Linked DNA regions of Homo sapiens: region 1 is linked to region 2. Evidence: promoter capture Hi-C in 16 types of primary human blood cells and fetal thymus (Javierre and others, 2016). All regions are on one chromosome and are shown on one strand. Each heading gives the region's core, a stretch centred on a gene start or on the middle of the fragment in contact. The rest is flanking DNA. Distances are from core to core; before and after follow the strand shown. Region 1 holds the start of CPAMD8 (C3 and PZP like alpha-2-macroglobulin domain containing 8). Region 2 holds the start of LINC00661 (long intergenic non-protein coding RNA 661).

Region 1 (2,700 bases), core at 16-2,515, 1.0 Mb before region 2:
AGAGTTTAGATTTGGTCTCAATAAACGGGAAGCCCTGGCTGGATGTGGTGGCTCACACCTGTAATCCCAGCACTTTGGGAGGCTGAGGAGGGAGGATCATTTGAGCCCAGTGCTCAAGACCAGCCTGGGCAACACAGTGCGACTCCGTTTCTAAAAAAAAATATATAAAAATTAGCTGGGTGCGGGCTTGCACCTGTAGTCCCAGCTACTCTCCAGGAGTCTGAAGCTGCAGTGAGCTGTGACTGCACCACTAAATTCCTGCCTGGGCAACAGAGCAAAACTCTGGTCTCAAAACATAAAAATAAAATGTAAAATAAACAGGGAGCCCCGAGGATTCCGGGCAGGAGGGGGTGTGGTCAGCACTGGAATTTTAGAAGAAGGGCAGTTGGTAGCTGGGGGAAGGGGGTTCCACACTGGAAGGAGGGGGTCCAGGACTTGGACATGGTATAGGATGTGCCGCCTGCCAGTGGGACCTAGGACAGCAGGACCATCACTGAGGTGGCCACACGGGGAGGGGCAGGAGGGGACACCCTGCTCTTGGAGAGAAAGGGGGTGCCCATCCACCCCTGCTGTATGAAGGGGAAAGGGGGACTCTGAGGCCCAGCGAGAGAGGGGACGGGCCCAAGGGATTTGTGGACAGTGGGGGTGGGGGAGAGGGGAGCAGAGAGCACAGATAGGGACCTGGGGCAGATGTGAGTCTGGGAGGTTCGACCCCTGGCTAGACTGTTTCCCCAAAGGGTCCTCTGCTCCTTGGGCTGTACGCACTGCACTGGGCACTAGATACAGGCCAGGGCTTAGGGCACGGCGGCGCCTGTGGGATCGGGGTTGCAGGCGGCGTCCAGACCCAGGGGCCCCTGGTGAGGGGCGGGCCCGGGGAGGGGGCCATAAGGGGCTGGCTGGGGAGGGAGGGAGGGAGAGGCCAGGGAAGGGACAGGTTCCGAGTGGACGCTGGGTGGAGAGGAGAGGGAGAGTGGGGGCGGTGGGGGGTCGGGTCCGAGGCGGGGCTGGTGGGGAGGGGGGCATCCGGGGGCGAATCCGGGTAGGGGGTGAGGAGGCGGGTTCGGAAGGAATCGGGCAGGGCCCGGGTGGGTCCGGTGAGTAAGTGAGGGGACGATCCCCGGAAGGGATCGGGGCGGGTCGGGGTCCGGAGATGGGCGGAGCAGGCGTCCCGGGAGGGTGCGCCCAGGAGCGGGGCGAGCGGGGCGAGCGGGGCGGTCCCGGAGACGAGGCGGGTCCGGGGAGGGGGCTGGCCCGGGGCTGCCCCAGCTTGGCCGGGCGCGGAGCGGGGCGCATGGCGCCGGGCGCACTGCGCGGGGGCTGCGAACAAAGGGCCCCCGGCGGCGGCGCGAGGACGGCCGCGCTCGGACCCTGGCCCTGGCCCAGCCCTGGCCCGGCCCCCTCCCCAGGCGCGGCGCCCCCCAGGAGCCGAAAAATGAGCGGCGCCCTGCTCTGGCCGTTGCTCCCGCTCCTGCTCCTGCTGCTGTCGGCGCGGGACGGCGTGCGCGCCGCGCAGCCTCAGGCCCCGTGAGTATCCTCCGGCGACAGAGGAGGTCGGTCGCCTTCTGGGGTGGGGGTCGCGGGTACTGGCTCAGAGTGTTGCAGCGACCTGCCCAAGGCCACACAGCCTCCGCGCTGGGCTGGACCTGGCCTCTTGTTCCCGAATCGTCTTGAGGAGGGGGCGCCCTAAAGTTTCCGAAGTGGCTCTGTGGAGGTACAGGGACTCCCAAAAGCTAAAGGTGCTGAGGTCAGCTCCCCCCGCCCCACCTCGCCCCCTTCGTGTGACCCGGGCTGTCATCATGGGTGGCGATTTCCAGTTGTCCAAGGTATGAAGGTAAGAGGAGCGTCTTGGCTGAGAAGTGGGAGGAGAGTGCGAAGGGGCACTTTCCCGTGGGTGGGCGTGGTGAGGGAGGAGGAAGTGTTTGTTTTGCTTCTACATTTTTCTAGAGGTTTGCTTGCAGGCTTCTGGTGGGTTGACAGCGGGGAGAAGGTGAATTAACTAACTGCTGGGGAGTACTGCTAAGTTGGCTTCACAGAGAATATTTCTAAACCTGGCAAGTTCGGGTGAGCTCTGCAGGGCTGCGGGTTCAGGGGGGCTGCCCTGGTCTGCACAAGACCAGCCTTTTAGTCCAGCTGGGCGTTTAGAAGGCGGCTTGTTCAAGCAGCCCTTGTTTAGGAGTTTCCAGAAAACTGGTAAGCAGTGAGACTAGGTGGGTGTCGTTATTTGCAGTGAGTAGTTGGTCCTTGCTGGTCACAGTTTTAAAAGCAAGACAGTCTACTGCGCTCTGAGCATCCAGACTTCCCTCTCCTAGGCTTCGTGAAATCGGAACCCTACAAATTTTCATCCTAATGCTTCTTTCAAAGCTGGCATCCCTTAGAATAGTGGTTCTCAGCCCTGGGGGGGATTTTTGTCTCCCTGAGGCCGCTGGGAAATGTCTGGAGGTATTTTTGGTTGTCACAAATAGGGAGAGGCATTTGGTGTTGGCATTAAGTGGGTGCAGGCCAGGAATGCTGGTAAACAGCTTTCGATGTGCAGGTCAGCTTCCACTGCAAGGAATGACGCGGCCCCACATGACAGACCTTGGCTCCAATGAGAGACCCTGCCTTATACAGAGGTTTTTGTTTGTTGTTTGTTGTTTTTGGGGTTTGTTTTTGTTTTTGTTTTGAGATGGAGTTTTACTCTTGTTGCCCAGGCTGGAGTGC
Region 2 (2,700 bases), core at 45-2,544:
TGGTCAACATGTATGCGTGCAATTTGTCTGTGTATGTGAGGATGCATGTGTGTGGGTGAACACGTCTCTCCTCCAGCTGGGCCTGGCTGCTCCACTCAGGTGTGCACCTGGATCCCTGTCACTGTCACCCCCGGGCCTGTGGCCAGCATCAGAGCACCCATAGGTGCTCCTCAGCCTCTGCTCTTTCCATGCTGGGTGGTCCTGGGGATGCAGATGGGGCAGGGACATAGGGCAAAGGGCAGAGGGCAGAGGGCAGAGGGCAGAAGCCAGGCTTCCCCCTTGGGGTGACTCGCGTAGTGTGTAAAGTGCCAGGTCTGTGTGGCAGGGCTGGATTCAATGCAATGCACCCTCTCACCTCCTCCTCCCAGAAGCCCACTGGGGTGCTGTGACTCACCCCCCACCCCATGGATGGAGGCAATCACGGAGGCTTCGAGGACTAACCCGTGGCCTGAGATCACCCAGGATCCCACTGGCCAGGCTTCCAATGGTTAAGCTCCCACTGAACAGGTCCTAGCTGACCACCCCCACAATGACCAGGTCCCACTGACCAGATGTGGACTGACCAGGTCCTGCTGACTGGGCCCCACAGACCAGGCCCTGGCTCATCAGACACCACTGACAAAGGCCACAATAACAAGGCTGCAACTGACAAGGCCCTCACGGCCCTCACTGACTAGGTCCCAACTGATGGACCCCACCAAATAGATCTCACTAATCAGACCCCCGCTGACCAGGCCCTAACAACTGCTGGACCCCTGCTGGCCAGGCCCCAAATGCTGAACCCCACTCACCAGGCCCCAAAAGCTGAACCCCACTGACTGGGCCCCAAATGCTGGATCCCTGCTGACAGGCCCCAACTATGGGATCCCCACCAACCAGGCGCCAACTGTCAGACCCCTGCCAACCAGGCCCCGGACGCTGGACTCCACTGACCATGTCCCAGCTACTGGACCCCCACTGACCAGGCCCCAACAACTGCTGGACTGCACTGATCAAGCCCAAACTGCCAGACCCCACTGACTGGGCCCCAACTCCTAGACCCCTCCTGACTGAGCCCCAACTGCCAGACCCTTGCCAACCAGGCCTCTTCTTATGAGACCCCTGCTGACCAGACCCCAACTGCTGGGCCCCTGCTTACCAGGCCCCCACATCCACACCTCACTGACTAGGCCTCACTGCTCTGATCCCCGCCGATCAGGCCCCAAATGCCGGGCCCAGATGACCAGGCCTCAACTGCTAGACGGCCCACCAACCAGGCCTCAGCTCCTGGACCCCTGTTGACCAGGCCCCAACTGCCAGACCCCAATGACCAGGCCCCAACTGCCAGAGCCCTGCTGACCAGGTTCCAACTGCTGGATCCCCTTTGACCAGGCCCCAACTGTTGGACCCCCGACAACCAGGTCCCAACTGCCTGATTCCGCCAACCAGGCCCCAACTGGTAGACCCCTGCTGACCAGGTCCCAACTGCGAGACCCATGCAGATGAAGGCCCAGCGTCCAGACCTCACTGCCTAGACCGCACTGATCTGATCCTCACTGACCAGGCCCCAACCGCCAGACCCCACCTACCAGGTCCCAGCTGCTGCATCCCTGCCAAATAACCCCCAGCTGCCGTATCCCCTCTGACCAGGCCCCAACTGCTGGACCCCCTCCAAACAGGCCCCAACTATAAGACCCCGCTGACCAGGCCCCAACTGCCAGACCCCCATGGACGAGGCTGCAACTGCCAGATCTCTGCTCACCAGGCCCCAACTGTGGGACCCCCGCTGGCCAGACCCCAACCATGAGACCCTCGCCAAACACGCCCCAACTACTGGACTCTTGCTGGCCAGGCCCCAACCCCCAGGGCCTAGTCAGTCAGTGAGACCTGACTAGGTCTCACTGATCAGATCCCCGCTGACCTTGCCCCAGCTGCAGACCCCTATTGACTGTGGGCGGAGGATTACCCAGGTGCCGAGGTGAGAGACTGAAGACACAAACTGTTTCAGTATAATAAAGAAAATAGTTAGAATAAGAATAGTCATAATACAAATTAGATATAGAGATGATCATGGACAATTATCAATCATTATTATAAACATTATTAATCATTAGCTTTTAATATTACTCTTTGTTGCGTTACTAACATAACCTAGGAATAACTGGCGGGTAGAGGGTCAGGTGCTGAAGGGACATTGTTAGAAGTGACCTAGAAGGCAAGAGGTGAGCCCTCTGTCAACGCGTGCATAAGGGCAGCTTGAGGGCTCCTTGGTCAAGCGGTAACGCCAGTGTCTGGGAAGGCGCCCGTTACTTAGCAGACTGCGAAAGGGAGTCTCCTTTCCTTGGAGGAGTCAGGGAACACTGCTCCACCAGCTTCTTGTGGAAGGCTGGATATTATCTAGGCCTGCCGCAGTCATCCGGAGGCCTAAACCCCTCCTTGTGGTGCTGTGCTCCAATGGTCACTTTCATGTTCCTCCCGTACTCCTGGTTCCTCTTTGAAATTTGTAGTAGATAGCGGTAGAAGGAATAGTGAAAGTCTTACAGTCTTTGATCTTTCTTGTAAGTGCATAGAAGAAAACGCTGACGTATGCTGCCTTCTCTCTCTCTGCTTCGGCTACCTAAGAGGGAAGGGCCCCCTGTGCTGTGATCACGTGACTTGCTTCACCTTGTCAATCACTTAGAAGATTCACCCTCCTGACCCTACGCCCCTTGTCTTGTATGC

The links. The method cuts DNA at HindIII sites, captures the fragments that hold promoters and counts their contacts. A CHiCAGO score of 5 or more calls a contact.
Region 1: a contact is called between the fragment with the promoter of CPAMD8 here and the fragment with the promoter of LINC00661 in region 2, in 5 of 17 cell types (total B cells, naive B cells, total CD4 T cells and 2 more). The highest score is 10.0, in total B cells.

What each region holds. Positions count from the first base shown.
Region 1 is chr19:17,025,375-17,028,074 of GRCh38, reverse strand. CPAMD8 (C3 and PZP like alpha-2-macroglobulin domain containing 8) reads left to right here and starts at 1,265. Exons shown (of 42, transcript NM_015692.5): 1 at 1,265-1,524. The coding sequence starts at 1,433. RefSeq lists an enhancer at 185-1,093. The HindIII fragment of the contact is 6,852 bases long and covers 1-2,700 here.
Region 2 is chr19:16,014,228-16,016,927 of GRCh38, reverse strand. It overlaps LINC00661 (long intergenic non-protein coding RNA 661), which reads right to left and starts at 1,294. Exons shown (of 9, transcript NR_026828.1): 1 at 1,139-1,294. LOC105372291 (a long non-coding RNA gene) reads left to right here and starts at 1,872. Exons shown (of 2, transcript XR_936355.1): 1 at 1,872-1,957; 2 at 2,543-2,700. The HindIII fragment of the contact is 12,039 bases long and covers 1-2,700 here.